Regions from separate parts of the Homo sapiens genome. Here region 1 is linked to region 2. Evidence: promoter capture Hi-C in human tissues and cell types (Jung and others, 2019). All regions are on one chromosome and are shown on one strand. Each heading gives the region's core, a stretch centred on a gene start or on the middle of the fragment in contact. The rest is flanking DNA. Distances are from core to core; before and after follow the strand shown.

Region 1 (4,066 bases), core at 560-3,059, 450 kb before region 2:
CCACTGCCACCCGTCTCACAGAAATAAGCAGAATGAGAAAACAACACCCGTATGGAGAACTACTGAGTAATAAAAGAAAGTAACTACTGATACACACAACAACTTCGACAGATTGCAAGCGAAAAAACCCAATCCCAAGAGGTTAAATACGCTGTGATTCCATCTACATAACATTCTCAAAAGGGCAAGGTTACAGAGATGCAGAGATCCTCAGCCGTCGCCAGGGCCTGGGGGTGACAGAAGGGAGAAGCAGAGCGTTCCTTTGTGTTGACAGAACAGTTCTGTATCTTGATTGCAATGGTGGTTCCTGGAATCTGTGCAGGTAACAGAATGTCGCAAAGACTCTACCAAAAGAATGAGCCAGTGCTAACACTGAGGACGCCTGAGGAAGGTCTGAAGCCACAGTGTCCTGTGTCAATTTCCTAGTTTTAACGGGACACTAAAGTTATGTAAAATGTTACCACTGGAGACAGCAGGGTGAAGCCTAGGGAAATCTCTTTATTATTTTTGCAACACCTTGGCAGTCTATAATTCATTCTTATTTTTGCTTTTGTAGCGACAGGGTCTCACTGTGTTGCCCAGGCTGGTCTCGAACTACTGGACTCAAGTGATCCTCCCACCTCTGCCTCCCAAAGTGCCTGGATGACAGGTGTGAGCCACCACACCCAGCCTCTGTAATTCTTTAAAAATTAAAAGTTAACAAAAATAATATGAGGGCTATTTCACCACAGATGGGGGTAGGGCAGGGGGGGTTGCCATGGGTTGATGGTTTTGGGGCTGGGTGAGGGGCCTGGGGGGCTCGTTATTCCATGTTGTCTACCTTTCTGTGTAGTCAAATTCTCCATAACAGTGTTTTTATTTTTATTTTTTGCTTTACTATTTTTTGAGACCGAGTCTCACTCTGTCGCCCAGGCAGGAGTGCAGCGGCACAATCTCAGCTCACTGCATCCTCCGCCTCCTGGGTTCAAGCAATTCTCCTGTCCCCTCCCTAGTAGCTGGGACTACAGGCGCCCGCCATCACGCCCAGCTAATTTTTGTATTTTTAGTAAAGACGAGGTTTCACCATATTGGTCAGGCTGGTCTCGAACTCCTGATCTCAGGTGGTCCGCCCACCTCAGACTCCCAAAGTGCTGGGATTATAGGCGTGAGCCATCATACCCGGCCCATAATAAAGTTTTTTAAAAAAAATAATAAAGGGAACCAACACAAGAATAGCACTAAGAAGGGCCTTATCCATCCGGGTTTATAAATATCCTTCAAAATGCACAGTGTTAGAATTACGGGCCATCTCATCGAATATTCTCCCCAAAACAAAGGCCGGAGAGGCGACCAGAACTAGTTCAGTGTTTGTACAACACAGATCTAAAAGAGACACTGGATTACCCCCAGGCCAACTTCCATAATGACAGTATTAAAACACGGCATGTGAGCTTTGCCCAATACTCATGACCTCTAGATGAGCTCTCCACGGCCCCAGGATCCCAGGCACAGCCCTCCCATCTCCTCGCCACGCTGCCTTCAGACTCAGGTAACAGATGCATCCTGCCAGAGGCCACCTGCCCCAGGCCCTCATTCCAGTACAGAAACCTGCACTGCTAAGTCAGGGCATGTCTGCCTCGGGCTCCACACAAGTGTCTCCCTTTCTAAGTCCCTGTTTTTGGGTGGAAGTGAACTGCTCTAACACCAAGGTTCTGACCCTCTTTTTGTGGGGCGGGGACAGGGTCTCACTCTTTTGCCCAGGCTGGAGCACACTGGTGCAATCGTGGCTCACTGCAGCCTCAACCTCCTGGGTTCAAGCGATCCTTCTGCCTCAGCCTCCCAAGTAGCTGGGATTACAGGTGCCACCTCCATGCTCAGCTAAGCTTTTAATTTTTTTGTAGAGACTGGGTCTCATTATGTTGCCCAGCCTGGTCTTGAACTCCTGGCCTCAAGTGATCCTCCCACCTCAGCCCCCCAAAGCGCTTGGATGACAGGCATAAGCCACCCACTGCACCTGGCCCAAACTGTTTCTAAAGGAAATTAACAAGGGATGACATGAAAAGGAAGACTGAGTCAGACACCGTGGCTCACGCCTATAATCCCAGCACTCGGAGAGGCCGAGGCGAGTGGATCACCTGAAGTCAGGAGTTCAAGACCAGCCTGGTGAACAAGGTGAAACCCTATCTCTACTAAAAATGCAAAAATTAGCCGGGCACAGTGGCGCATGCCTGTAATCACAGCTACTTAGGAGGCTGAGGCAGGAGAATCGCTTGAACCCAGAAGGCAGAGGTTGCAGTGAGCCAAAATCGTGCCCTTGCACTCCAGCCTGGACAACAAAGTGAAACTCCATCTCACAAAAAAAAAAGAAGAAGAAGAAGAAGAAGACTGGGCATGGTGGCTCATGCCTGTAATCCGAGCACTTTGGGAGGCTGAGGCAGGCGGATCACCTGAGGTCAGGAGTTCAAGACTAGCCTGGCCAACATGGTAAAACCCTGTCTCTACTAATAATACAAAAAAATTAGCTGGGCGTGGTGGTGCATGCCTGTAATCCCAGCTACTGGGGGAGGCTGAGGCAGGAGAATCGCTTGAACCTGGGAGACGGAGGTTACAGTGAGCCAAGATCGTGCCACTGCACTCCAGCCTGGGCGACAGAGCAAGACTCTGTCTCAAAACAAACAAACAAACAAAAAAAAACAAAGAAAAAGAAACAGAAACAGAAAAAAGAAAGGAAGACTGGCAGACACAGCCAACAGCACGTGTGAACACGGCCCCCCTGCCCCACCATCCTTAGGCAAAGAACCAGCACTCTGCAAGCGGCTTCCACCCCAGGCCACAGGGCCCTTCACAGAGCACCCTGCCAAGCCCTCCACGGCAGCGACTCACCTCTACCACTTCAGCACTGTCCAGACAGCCACCCTCCCGTCCTCTCATCACAGACAAGGAAGCGGAGGCAAGGGACCGGCCCAGTGAGACTGTGAAATACATTTTGTCCTGTTTCCTGGCCTACGACTCCCCCAGATCCTCGGAATTCTCCAGTGTGCTAATGAGGTGACTAAGGGCTTGGCAGCCCCTCGGGAGCTGAGGGAATAGGGCTGCTCACTGAAAAGACCCAGGCTGGACGGGAGGGGAGGGGCATGTGGCTGAAGGCTGACTTGATCACCCAGGCCAATGCAGTGAGGTCACCCAAGCCTCTGCGAGGAAGCTGAGGTAAAACCCGGAGGACTGGGATGGAAGCTTCCCCACAGATGAATGCGTGGAGGTTCCTGGAGACGTCACAGCCCGGGGAGAGCACGGAACCCTCTGTGCCCCTTCCCACATCCCTCACCCTACACATGTCTTCATCTGCCTCCTTTGTAAAATCCTTTCTAATAAGCTGGTAAACGTAAGTAACAGCTCCCCTGAGTTTTGAGAGGTGCATTAGCAAATTAAGCTCAAAGAAGGGTTCATGAGGCCGGGCACGGTGGCTCATGCCTGTAATCCCAGCACTTTGGGAAGCCGAGGCGGGTGGATCACGAGGTCAGGAGATTGAGACCATCCTGGCTAACATGGTGAAACCCCGTCTCTACTAAAAATACAAAAAATTAGCCGGGCGTGGTGGCGGGCACCTGTAGTCCCAGCTACTCCGGAGGCTGAGGCAGGAGAATGGCGTGAACCCAGGAGGCGGAGCTTGCAGTGAGCCTAGATCGCACCACTGCACTCCAGCCTGGGAAACACAACAAGACTCCGTCTCAAAAAAGAAAAAAAAAGAAGGGTTCATGAGAAGGCTGGTTTCCAGCGCGTCCAGCAGAAGCTCAGGACACAGCCTGGGGCTTGTGACTGGCATGGGCCGTGGGGTTAGGTACGTGGGGAGGAGCCCGCAGCCTGTCCTGCCCGATGCAGCCCCCAGGTAGGAGTGAACTGAACGGAGGGCCCCAGCTCCTGCCCCTGCACCGCTTTGCTCGCGTGTGCTGGAAGGGATCTGTGACTGCTCTGACAGCCTGGGAGAAACTGAGTTTGTTATTCCCACGTTCTCAGGCCCAAGACCACATCGCTGTGCAGGAAGTGGCCGAGCTGGGGGCGTGAAACCAGCTGCTGCACCCTGGGAGTA
Region 2 (3,692 bases), core at 1,193-3,692:
AACTTGGGAGGCGGAGCTTGCGGTGAGCCAAGATCGTGCCACTGCACTCTAGCCTGGGCGACAGAGCAAGACTGTCTCAAAAAAATTAAAATTAAAATTAAAAACAAATAATCCTGCCTTTTACAGGTGAAACTCGGGGCTGTCCATAGCGGCTGGGACCCCGTTTCATCCATCCATGCTTCCTAGAACACACGATGGGCTTTCCTTACCCATGCCCAAGGTGTGCCCTCCGTCTGGAATGCCGTTCCCTGTTTCCCAGATCTCTTGAACTCTGGGTTCTCCCAGCCCCTTGTCCTTCCTTCCAGCTGAGCCCTGGCCACACTGGGGCTGCCTTTCTCTGACTCTGTCTTCCCCAAGTCAGGGGGCTCTCTGAGTGCAGGGTCTGATGCTGAGTCCCACTTAGCTTGGGGTCAGAACCAAGGGGTTTAATAAATAACCCTTGAAAACTGGATCGGATGAATTGGCTTTCATTGTGTTCCTAGCATCTTCTCAAATCAACTTCCCAGGACTCCAGGGTGAAGGAGGAAAAGAGGCATGGCCCAGGCCCTGGGGTGTGGGATATGGTCTCCCTAGGGGATGACAGTTGGGATCAATGGCCTGTGACTTCTCCTCTCCCTTCCCCCATCCTGGGACCTAACTGGAAATAAAACCTTGACTGTTGCCCGGGTGTCATTTTACCAGTGGATTTCTGCCAGGGCTTGTGTCCTAGGAGAAGGTTTAAGTTAAACCAGATTGCCCAGGTCTCCAAACGATTTGTCATGCTGACCTGAGATCATCGAAGGGGGCACCTGCCCCCGGGCAAGGTTGCAGGGGCAGGATGGGGCTGAAGGGATGAGCAGGGTCCCGGGCCCACCTGCTGATACAGCATTGGCCATGTGGGGGCTGCAATCGGATTTGGAAGACCCTGGGGCTTGGGGGCATGTCCAGTTTTCCCAGCTCCCTAAAAAATGACCATGCAGCCTGGCGCCGTGGCTCATGCCTGTAATCCAAACACTTTGGGAGGCTGAGGCAGGCAGATCACCGGAGGTCAGGAGTTCGAGACCAGACTGGCCAACATGGCAAAACCCTGTCTCTACTAAAAATACAAAAATTAGCCAGGCACAGTGGCACGTGCCTGTAATACCAGCTACTTGGGAGGGTCAGGCAGGAGAATCACTTGAACCTGGGAGGCGGAGGTTGCAGTGAGCCAAGATCACGCCACTGCACTCCAGGCTGGGCGACAGAGTGAAACTGTGTCTCAAAAATAAAAATAAAAATAAAAAGACCATGCCTACATCTGTGGTCATTCCAGGCAAGGCAATGAAAAGGCAGGGTTCTGAGGTCCAGCAGGGCTGGGTTTGAATAGGATCCCTGGCCGGGCACGGTGGCTCATGCCTGTAATCCTAGTACTTTGGGAGGCCAAGGCAGGCAAATCACGAGGTCAGGAGTCCAAGACCAGCCTGACGAATATGGTGACACCCCGTCTCTACTAAAAATACAAAAATTAGCTAGGTGTGGTGGCAGGCGCCTGTAATCCCAGCTACTCCGGAGGCCGAGGCAGGAGAATCACTTGAACCCAGGGGGCGGAGGTTGCAGTGTGTCAAGATCGCGCCACTGCACTCCAGCCTGGGCGACAGAGTCAGACTCTGTCTCAAAAAAAAAAAAAGAAAAAAAAGGAATAGGATCCCTCACTTGCTGTGGTATGCGGGGCAAGTGTTTTATGATCTCTGAGCCTCAGCTTGCTCATCTGTGAAATGGGGATCCTAGGGAAAGGGAAGGCCTGGCTTCTGGCTTAGTTAAGGGGCAGATTAAGAAATAAAAAGAGGCTGGGTGCAATGGCTCACACCTGTAATCCCAGCAATTTGGAAGGCTGAGGTGGAAGGATCACTTGGGGCTCAGGGGTTGAAGACAAGCCTGGTCAACACAGGGACATCTCGTCTCTACAAAAAGTTTAAAAAGTTAGCTGGGGGTGGTGGTGTGTGCCTGTGGTCCCAGCTACTTAGGAGACTGAGGCGGGAGGATCACCTCAGCCTGGGAGGGCAAGGCTGCAGTGAGCTATGATCACACCACTGCACTCTAGCCCTGGGCAACCGAGCAAGACCCAGTCTCAAAAATCGATAAATAATAATAATTAATAAGAAAAGTCATCAGCGAGTTGGCCAAGGTCACTCAGCAGGGCTATGGGGGCTGTGATCGCATGGACTGTCTCTATGGCAACAGCAGTGAGGATGACAGGTGGCCAAACTTGGTCCGGGAACGTATAATAGCTCAATCTTTTGAATCTAGCGCTCCCGAATTACTATGGCAACCGTAGGGCACTGGGCCAGCTCAAGGAGAGGGCGAGGGAAGCCTGGAGCCACGCCCCCTGGGCACGCCCCCGCACGGCCTCTCCCCATTGGTCAGTTCCGGAGGCCCCCACTGCGCGAGCAGCTATAAGAAGGGCGGGCGGGACCGGCGGGGGTGTGGAGACTCGAGCCTGGGGTCGGCGGAGACAGCTGGTGTCTGAAGCCGCTCGCGCCCAGGTGAGTGCCCTGAGGGCGGCGTCCGGGAGCGCCCCCCCGGGCTTAGGAGAGGAGCTCCAGATAGGGTGGTTGGGCGAAGGTCCGGCGGCGTGGGACGGGTATGACCGGCCAGAGCAGGTGGCTGGGACCCTTGGCCCGGTTGGCCCCAGCTCAGGACCCAGTTGGGCGAGGACCAGGCCTCAGAGGACGCGGGGTGGCAACCGGAGGGATCGCAGGCGGCAGGTCTGAGGCCCGAGGTCGAGCTCCCCCCCTGTAACTCTAGCTGGCTGCGTGACCTTGGGACCAGCATGGACCTGCTGCGTACCTCAGTTGCCCTGTCTGTCAAATGAGCTGTGAGTGGACTGGGACCCAGCAGCTACCACCTCCAGCCGTCTAGGGTGCTTGGGCAGTTCTGGGCCCAGGCAGGGGCCGCAGGGGTAGCAGGGACCTCCCACATCTTACAAAACAGGAAGCAGCCCAGAGAGGTGAAGGTGCTTGCCAAAAATCACACAGCTGGCCAGGTGCAGTGTCTCATGCCTGTAATCCCAGCACTTTGGGAGGCCGAGGTGGGCAGATCACTTGAGCCCAGGAGTTTGAGACCAGCCTGGGCAACATGGCGAAACCCGGTTTCTACTAAAAATACAAAAATTAGCCGAGCATGGTGGCACGTGGGTAATCCCAGCTAACTGGGAGGCTGAAGCAGGAGAATCACTTGAACCTGGGAGGCGGAAATTGCAGTGAGCTGGGATGGCGCCACTGCTCTCCAGCCTGGGCGAGAGAGATTCTGTCTTTAAAAAAATAATAAAAATAACACCGCAATTAATGGTAGCATTTGAACCCAGGTCTTTCTCACCTCAGAGACCATGCTTCGAGTCACTCCGGCAACCCTACCTTGCCAGAGGCTCATTATTGGACACCCTCTGTGTACAGAGCTCTGGACATGCATTGTCTGAGCTCCACAGAATGCCCCATTATGCAGATGAAGAAACTGAGGCCCCAAGAGGTTTGAGAGTTGCTCAAGTCACAGAGCCCAATTTGACAGGATCTGATGCCTGGGCAGGTGCTCCCCTTACTCAATCCTGCCCCGCAGGGTGACCCTGTTTGCAGCACGATGTCTGAAGAAGAGGCGGCTCAGATCCCCAGATCCAGTGTGTGGGAGCAGGACCAGCAGGTGAGGGCTGCCCCTCCCATGGAGCAGGGACAGAAGGTATT

What was found. Contacts are between HindIII fragments. The study calls those that stand out against the background at their distance.
Region 1: a fragment that was not itself captured here is called in contact with the fragment with the promoter of PLIN5 in region 2 in 3 of the 25 tissues and cell types used here (dorsolateral prefrontal cortex, lymphoblastoid cells and spleen).

The regions. Positions count from the first base shown.
Region 1 is chr19:4,987,937-4,992,002 of GRCh38, reverse strand. All of the region lies in intron 1 of KDM4B (lysine demethylase 4B), which reads right to left. Among named protein-coding and RNA genes, the nearest start is that of KDM4B, 21 kb to the right of the region's middle. RefSeq lists enhancers at 1,234-1,733, 1,734-2,235, 2,452-2,956, 2,957-3,462. The HindIII fragment of the contact is 6,577 bases long and covers 1-4,066 here.
Region 2 is chr19:4,533,974-4,537,665 of GRCh38, reverse strand. PLIN5 (perilipin 5) reads left to right here and starts at 2,442. Exons shown (of 8, transcript NM_001013706.3): 1 at 2,442-2,501; 2 at 3,571-3,651. The coding sequence starts at 3,592. LRG1 (leucine rich alpha-2-glycoprotein 1) reads left to right here. Exons shown (of 2, transcript NM_052972.3): 2 at 1-1,264. RefSeq lists an enhancer at 2,736-3,291. The HindIII fragment of the contact is 58,476 bases long and covers 1-3,692 here.